Linked DNA regions of Homo sapiens: region 2 is linked to region 1. The links are contacts of gene promoters, found by promoter capture Hi-C in human tissues and cell types (Jung and others, 2019). All regions are on one chromosome and are shown on one strand. The core of a region is centred on a gene start or on the middle of the fragment in contact, and the rest is flanking DNA. Distances in the headings are between cores, read along the strand shown.

What was found. Contacts are between HindIII fragments. The study calls those that stand out against the background at their distance.
Region 2: a contact is called between the fragment with the promoter of DPEP1 here and the fragment with the promoter of FANCA in region 1, in 2 of the 25 tissues and cell types used here (aorta and bladder).

Annotation. Positions count from the first base shown.
Region 1 is chr16:89,815,057-89,819,598 of GRCh38, reverse strand. FANCA (FA complementation group A) reads left to right here and starts at 2,952. Exons shown (of 43, transcript NM_000135.4): 1 at 2,952-3,062; 2 at 3,613-3,722. The coding sequence starts at 2,984. RefSeq lists enhancers at 2,289-2,338, 2,724-3,018 and silencers at 2,879-3,168, 3,399-3,448. The HindIII fragment of the contact is 15,845 bases long and covers 1-4,542 here.
Region 2 is chr16:89,611,345-89,615,539 of GRCh38, reverse strand. DPEP1 (dipeptidase 1) reads right to left here and starts at 1,898. Exons shown (of 11, transcript NM_001389466.1): 1 at 1,821-1,898. RefSeq lists enhancers at 1-29, 30-734 and a silencer at 2,140-2,298. The HindIII fragment of the contact is 39,869 bases long and covers 1-4,195 here.

The DNA.
Region 1 (4,542 bases), core at 1,703-4,202:
ACTATGTAGGGTCCAGCCCTATGGGGCTTAGTGGGTGTTCTCCCCATGTACGGAGAAGAGAGATTGTAATAAATAAAGACACAAGACCAAGAAATAAAGAGAAAACAGCTGGGCCCCGGGGACCACTACCATCAAGACGCGGAGACTGGTAGCGGCCCCGAACGGCTAGGCTCTTTGATATCTATTGCATACATGACAAGGGGGCAGCGTAAGGAAGGTGAATCTTCTAAGTGATTGACAAGGTGAAGCATGTCACGTGATTACAGGATGGGGGCCCTTCCCTTTCAGGTAGGTGAAGCAGAGAAAGAAGGCAGCATACGTCAGCATTTTCTTCTCTGCACTTATAAGAAAGATCAAAGACTTTAAGACTTTCACTATTTCTTCTACCGCTATCTACTACGAACTTCAAAGACGAACCAGAAGTAAGGGAGGAACATGAAAGTGGACAAGGAGCGTGACCAGTGAAGCACCACAGGGAGGGGTTTAGGCCTCCGGATGACTGCGTGCAGGCCTGGATAACATCCAGCCTCCCACAAGAAGCTGGTGGAGCAGAGTGTTCCCTGACTCCTCCAAGCAAAGGAGACTCCCTTTCATGGTCTGCTAAGTAACGGGTGCCTTCCCAGACACTGGCGTTACCGCTTGACCAAGGAGCCCTCAAGCGGCCCTTATGCGGGCATGACAGAAGGTTCACCTCTTGCCTTCCACTCACTTCTCACAATGTCCTTTCAGCACCTGACCCTATACCCACCGGTTATTCCTAGGTTATATTAGTAATGCAACAAACAGTAATATTAAAAGCTAATGATTAATGTTTATAATAATTGATAATTGTCCATGATCATCTCCATAATTTGTATTATGACTGTTCTTATTGTAACGATTTTATTATACTGAAATAGTTTGTGCCTTCGGTCTCTTGCCTCGGCACCTGGGTAATTCTCCGCCCACAGGACTACAGGCTCGTGTCACCACACTGGGCAATACAAAAAATACAAAAAAAAAATTTTGTATTTTTTGTAGAGACGAGGTCTTGCCATATTGCCCAGGCTGGAATTCTTACCTTTGTTACTGTATTTAACGTATCTTTTTCCTCCGGCCATCTTCATGGTTTTCTCTCTGATTTCCACAGTTTGAATACACTGCATGTGTCAGGCAGGGGCTCATATTTATCAAGTTTTGTGTGTGCTCTGAGCTCAGGTCTTTCATTATTTTGGGAAAATTATTGGTAATTTTCTCTTCAAACATTTTTTATGATTTGTTCTTTCTTCTTCTTTTGGGAGTCCTATTACATGCATATGATATCATTTGATATTTTCCCACAGTTCTTGGATGCTTTTTTTAAAAAAAAACTTTTTTTCTTCTTTATTTTCCAACGTGGGTAATTCCTATTTTTCTCAGCTGTGTTGATCCTACTGCTGCCCCATCAGAAAAATTACCTGTTATCAGCGTTCTTCCTTTCTTATAATTTGATGAGTTTCCTCCTCATGCATATTGTTCACCTTTCGTACAAGAGACCTCCACATATTAATCACAGTTAATTTAAATTTCCAGCCTGTTTCAATTTCTCGATCACCTCTGAGTCTAGTCCTGTTAATTGCTTAGTGTTATTTTTTGTTTTTGAAACAGGGTCTTGCTCTGTTGCCCAGGCTGGAGTGCAGCGGCGCGATCTCAGGCTGTTCCCTGAGTTCACACCATCCCCCTCAACCAGCAGATTGCAAAGTGTCCGAGTCGGGCCGTGCAGGAGTCTTTGTGGGGGTTTCATGGACTCCGAATTCTCATTTCTGCTCCATCCCCATCTCATGAATCCAAGGCCCCACTCTGTGCCTCGGCTCTTCGTTTGTGGTGCTGAACGTCATCTACGTCATCTACGCCATCTACGTAATCAACACAATAAAGACGCCTGCCGGGAACGCGGCCCTTCGGCTGAATCCCTTCGGTGGTTCCAAGGCCACTGCCAGAGGATGCGGACGGGTCTCCAGGGCCTCTACTTACCCAGGACTTTGAGGCACATTAGCTTCGCCTAGGCACTCGCTTTTACGAATTCTTATGTTTGGTTTTGTTTTGAGACAGAGTCTCGCTCTGCCGCCCAGGCTGGTTAAAAGATAGGGTCTCAGCCGGGTGCGGTGGCTCACGCCTGTAATCCCAGCACTTTGGGAGGCCGAGGCGGGCGGATCACCTGAGGTCCGGAGTTCGAGACTAGCCTGGGCCAACATGGCGAAACGCTGTCTCTACTAAAAATAACAAAAATCATCCAGGCGTGGTGGCGCGCACCTGCAATCCCAGCTACTCGGGAGGCTGAGGCAGGAGAATCACCTGAACCCAGGAGGCAGACGTTGCAGTGAGCCGAGATCGCGCCACTGCACTCCAGCCTGGGCGACAGAGGGAGACTCCGTCTCAAAAAAAGGAAAAAAAAAAAAAAGAAAAGAAACAAAAGTGATGGGGTCTCGCTCTGTTGCCCAGGCTAGTCTGGAATTCCTGGGCTCAAGCGACCCTCCAGCCTCGGCCTCCCAAAGCGCTGGGAATACAGGCGCGGCTACCGCGCGGTCTCCGGCTGCCGAAACACCGCCCTGCGCGCGGACCGTTCGGCCGCCGGGAGGAACAGCGGCTGCCCGGAGCTCAGAGGCGCGCGCGGCTTTGCGCTCCCCGCGGCGCTCTGAGCCTGCCTCGGCTTGGTTGGCCAGGTGGTCTCTTCAGGACCAACCCCAGTCATTCCCGGCAGGAACCACGCTTGAGGGGCGGCAGTCTGCCCGCGCGAGACGCCCCCGCGGACTACACCGCGGCGGCAAAGCCAAACGCAAAAACTACCTCACCGCGCGCAGGCGCCTCCCCCAGGACCAACATGGCCACGACGCAAGGCCTCGACCTGAGGGGCGTGGCCTGGCCGCCGCCAGCCAACGGGTGTGCGCGCCTGGCCGCAGCCAATAGGAAGGCAGCGCGGGCTCGGGCGCAGGGAGCCGCCGCCGGGGCTGTAGGCGCCAAGGCCATGTCCGACTCGTGGGTCCCGAACTCCGCCTCGGGCCAGGACCCAGGGGGCCGCCGGAGGGCCTGGGCCGAGCTGCTGGGTAGGTGGGCGCGGCAGGCCGCGGGAGTGGGCGGCGTCCGGCCCGGGACGGTTTCGCCGGTTCCCCGATCCCTTCCCGCCAGAGCCTCCGCCGGTCGGATCCCCGGACGCCGCGCCCGGGGGGCTGTGCGGGGTGGGCGCCCGGCTGGGGCGGCGCGGCTGCCTCGGACCCGGCCCCTCCTGCGCCTGGGCGGACGCCCCCAGCCGCCGCCCGCGGGGCGCTCCCTTCTTTCCCGAACGCCGCCCCCGCCGGCCGCCCTGTCAGGCGGGCCTGGGGTGCGCGGCCTGGGGCTCCCCTCAGCGCAGAGGCCGCCCCTCGCCAGCCGTCCCCGGGCTCCCCTGCCTCGGGCCCTCCTGGGCCGTCTTCCCCGGCGTCCGCGGTGGGGCCGTCTCCGTTAGTTTCCCGAGACCTGCGCCCTGGGGAGGAGCCCCGGCCCCTCTTCGGGAGGGTGTCGCTGGTGGGTTTCTCCGCGGCGTCCACCTGCGCGTCGGGCCGGGGACCCCGTGTGTGAATTGTGCTGTGATGGTTTCGAACCGACTTCTCTCCGTAGCGGGAAGGGTCAAGAGGGAAAAATATAATCCTGAAAGGGCACAGAAATTAAAGGAATCAGCTGTGCGCCTCCTGCGAAGCCATCAGGACCTGAATGCCCTTTTGCTTGAGGTAAGAGGAAGCTGGTGTCCGTCTGCGGGCAGATTTAGGTTCGGGGTTTTTGAGTCCAGCCACCGCACAGCTTTCCTAAGAAAACACCCGAGGCGGCGGGCGCGGTGGCCTGGCCCGCAGAGGGGAGGGTCGCCTGAGCCCGGGAGTTCTGGACCAACCTGGGCAACGGGGTGAGACCCCGCCTCTTTTATTAAAAACAAAACAACAACAACAAAAAAACAGGCCGGGCGCCGTGGCTCAGGGCTGTAATCCCAGCTTTTGGGGAGGCCAAGGCGGGTGGATCACTCAGGGTCAGGAGTTCGAGACCAGCCTGGCCAACATAGTGAAACCCGGTCTCTACTGAAAATACAAAAATTAGCTGGGTGTGGTGGCGCACGCCTTTAATCCCAGCTACTCGGGAGCCTGAGGCAGGAGAATTGCTTGAACCTGGACCCGGGAGGCAGAAATTGCAGTGAGCCGAGATCACGCCCCTTGCAATCCAGTCTGGATTACAGAGTGAGACTGTCTCACAAAAAAAAAAAAAAAAAAAAAAAAAAAAAAAGCCGGGCGTGGTGGCTCACGCCTGTAATCCTAGCCCTTTGGGAGGCCGAAGTGGGTAGATCACTTGAGGTTAGGAGTTCGAGACCAGCCTGACCAACATGGTGAAACCCCGTCACTACTTAAAATACAAAAATTAGCCGGGTATGGTAGCAGGTGTCTGTAATCCCAGCTGCTCAGGAGGCTGAGGCAGGAGAATCGCTTGAACCTGGGAGGTGGAGGTCGCCGTGAGTGAGATCCCGCCATTGCACTCCAGCCTGGACGACAGTGAGACTCCCTCTCA
Region 2 (4,195 bases), core at 649-3,148, 200 kb after region 1:
CTTTAACCCACGCCCTCACCCCTGAGAGCAAGGCTGCTGTTACCCCTGTCTCCTACTCTTGGAAACTGAGGTAGAGAAGACAGGTCCAGCCCCCTGGCTCATGGGAGATGGAGCCAGGATGTACGCACAGGACACAGGTCCAGAGACTCCAGAGCTGCGTGTAGACCAGCACCACTGCCCTGCCAGGCCCGCCTGCCCGCTCTGTACCCAGTGGGAGCTGGGAGCCTCAGCCCGACCTGTGAGGCCACCCCTCAGGGGCGGCTCTGAGAGGCCGCTTTGGGGCTCAGTGTCCGTCCACCGCAGCCTACGTCCCCCTGAAGCTGCAAGCAGGGACTGAGGGACCCTCCCCGTCTGCTCCTGGCCTCCGACTGGAGATTTGTCAAAGCTGACCTTTTGTCGACAAGGAGACTGAGGCCCAGCGGGAGGTATTTTAGAGACACTTCCACGTTTGGAGGCCCTAGATGCCCCCTTCCACCCATGACACCCACTGAGCTTCTCCATGGGGTCAGACGCCAATCAGCAAGAATTCGCCAAGAGATGTGGAGGCTACTAGACCCTCACCATGAAAATAGCTTGGCTGTGTAAGAGCCATTGGCCGAAGTAGGTTCTGCCCTTCGCTAGCCCAGCCGCAGCTCCAGACTCCAACTTCCGCCTGTGCCCAAGGCTTTCTCTCTAGCATGTCCTGTGATAACCCTGAAGCTCCCCGCACCCTACCCGGGGAGAAGATTTTTCTTTTATTTTTTTGGATACGGAGTCTCGCTCTGTCACTCAGGCTGGAGTGCAGTGGCACGATCTCAGCTCACCGCAACCTCCGCCTCCCGGGTTCACGCCATTCTCCTGCTTCAGCCTCCCGAGTAGCTGGGACTACAGGCGCCCGCCACCACGCCCGGCTAATTTTTTGTATTTTTTATTAGAGACGGGGTTTCACCGTGTTAGCCAGGATGGTCTCGATCTCCTGACCTCATGATCTGCCCACCTCGGCCTCCCACAGTGTGGGGATTACAGGCGTGAGCCACCGCGCCCGGCCACAGCTTTGATTTTCATTCAGCAAATCCTTTCCACCTGGAAGGAAATTGTGGGGCCGGACAACAGGCCCTGCTCTTAGCTGGGCGGGAAGGCAGATGACTGCGCAGAGAATTCCAGAACAGAGAGTAAGTCCGGGGACTCGGCGCTCCTCACACAGCCTCTGAGAACTCTTCCTGGAGGAAGGGGTACGTGAGCTGAGTCCCAAGGGTGCCTAGGACCGCACTGGGCGCCACAAGGAAGGAACAGCCGGCACAGTGGACAAGCGGGGTTGTGGGGCCTCTGGAGGGCCTGGCGGGTCCAGACCTCATCCTAGGGACCACGGGGAGGGCCAGTGGGAGGACAGCGGCGGGTCTGAGAGCAGCTCTCCCACCTCCTTGAGTCCCAGGAAGCCGCCGCGTCCCCTGCCCCACACACCTGGCCCCAGTTTCCTAGAATCCCAGGAAGCAGCCGCGTCCCCTGCCCCACACACCTGGCCCCAGTTTCCTAGAATCCCAGGAAGCAGCCGCGTCCCCTGCCCCACACACCTGGTGCCAGCCTCCTAGAATCCCAGGAAGCTGCCTCGTCCCCTGCCCCACACACCTGGTCCCAGCCTCCTAGAATCCCAGGAAGCCGCCCCGTCCCCTGCCGCACACACCTGGCCTCAGCCTCCTAGAATCCCAGGAAGCCGCCGCGTCCCCTGCCCCGCACGCCTGGTCCCAGCTTCCACCCACAGTGGTGCCCTGGGGTCCCCGGGCCTGCACCACCCCAGGTGGGCACCCCAGTACCCTGGCGCACCGACTCCCCAGCCCACTCACCCTGGCCTCTGCGATGCAGACTTGCTCCCTGGCAGGGCCCGGCCTAGGCAGCTCCCACGCCAGGCTCACAGCTGGGCTGGCCCTACCCGGCCACCTGCTGCCCCTCCCAGGCCCCTCCTCAGGAAGGTGAAACTGCCCCATTTCCTGCAGGAACCCTGTGTTCTCTGAAAGTAGAAAGAGGAGGGAAATGGAGGAGGGGAGGGGAAGGTTGGAGAGAAAGGGCCAGGGGTCGGAAGGAAGGGCTGCAGGAGGGAGAGAGGAGGAGGGAGAGAGGAGGAGGGAACTTTGCTCCAGGAGATGGCTCTGCGTCCTGACCTCCCCCAAGGCTAGAAACTTCTCCAGCAGCTTCCTCATTTCCTGAGAGTGCCCTGAGATGTCCTGGCAGTGTTTTTCCCTCATGTGTGGATGTGCCACCTCCCAGCCAGGGGGGTGCGTGCACAGCTGTGCTGTCCAGCTCTGTGATGTCAGATCTTAGAGAATGCTACACATCAGTACACATAAGCCATCTGTGTCCTTTTTCTCATGCATTTTCGTTGTGAAAATACAACATGTATACCAACAAGACATATAGGTGTTGGGAGGGAAACTGAGGCAGGGCTTGCATGATGTCCTTTGGAATGTGTCTAGACTTGCTGGCTCCTTCCTTCTAGCCCTCCTAGGCCCCTATTCCCATTATCTCAAGTAGCAGAACATGCTCCATATAAATGCTAAACCGGCACAGCTGTAATCATGTGCTTAATGCAACGTGGTCTTTTGACCTCCATATTCTCACCATCTGTTTCTTTGTTGCATTACCAATAAATACCGTGGGCTCCCAGAGCTCGGGCTTTTGCAGCCTCCACAATAGCGATGGCCCCCTGGTGTGCCACCTTTCTCTCTCTGTGTTTTTCTGAATCCTTTGACTCCGCCGGACTTTGTCACCCCCACGACCTGGGGTTGGGTCTGATCACCCCAACATATAGGTACTGTACCTTTACACAGAAACTACACAGGTGTTCGTAGCAGGACAATTTAGTATAGCCAAAATGTGGGAAGAGTGCAGATGCCCAACACGGGGACAGATAAATGTGTCTCTTCACGCAGTGGAGTATTACTCAGCCATGAAGAAGAGTGACGTGCTGACACGTGCTATAACATGAAGAACCTCAGAAACATTTCGCTAAGTGGCAGAAGCCAGATAGTCGGGTGTGGTGGTGCGCACCTGTGGTCTCTGCTGTGAGGCTGAGGCAGGAGGAGCGCCTGAGCCTGGGAGACTGAGGTTACAGTGAGCTGCGATCACGCCATTGCACTTCAGCCTGGGCCGCAGAGTGGGAGCCTGTCTCAGAAAAGAAAGAAAGAAGCTAGACTCAAAAGACCACATGTCGTGTGATTCCACTTATATGAAATGTCCAGAATAAGTGACTCCATAGACACAGAAGGTGGATTCATGGTTGTTGAGGCTGTGAAGGAAAGTGGGGAGTGGGTGCTAATGGGAATGGGTTTCTATTTGGGGCAATGACTTTTTTTTTTTTTTTTTTGAGACAGAGTCTTGCTCTGTCGCCCAGGCTGGAGTGCAGTGGCGCGATCTCAGCTCGCTGCAACCTCCACCTCCTGGCTTCACGCCATTCTCCTGCCTCAGCCTCCCGAGTAGCTGGGACTACAGGCGCCCGCCACCACGCCCGGCTAATTTTTTGTATTTCTTTTTTAGTAGAGACGGGGTTTCACCGTGTTAGCCAGGATGGTCTCGATCTCCTGACCTCGTGATCCGCCCGCCTCGGCCTCCCAGTGTGATACCCAACCTTGTTTTAACCTAAGTGACCTTCTCGTAGCAGAGAGAGCGCCGGACAGACTCCATTTTAGTTTCTTCACCTGCAGCCCCCTTCACCTCCCTCCCTTAAGGCTTAACTAGTGTGACTGACTCAAAGCACGTCTGGGAATGCACCTACTGATAAGATACTGAGGCAAGCTGCACCAGCAGCTCCTCGGGACGCGCTCGGTGGATGGCACCCGAAGCCCCTGCATTTATCTCTTTGTGATAGTTTAAGCCCCTGCACCTGGAGCTGTTTATTTTTTGTAACTGCATTTGTAACCAATTAATTTTTTAACTTTTTGCCAGTTCTGCTTCTATAAAAATTGCTTCAGTTAAACTCCCCCCCCCCATTTAGACCACGGTATACAAACAAAGCTAGCCCCTTCCTCAGGGCCGAGAGAATTTTGAGCATTAGCGGCCTCTCGGTCGCAGGCTAATAAAGGACTCCTTAATTTGTCTCAAAGTGTGGTGTTTCTCTATAACTCGCTTGGTTACAACACCAAAGTGCTGGGATTACAGGCGTGAGCCCCTGTGCCCTGCGAGGGCAATGAAAATTTTTAAATTAAAAATCTGGAATTAAATAGTA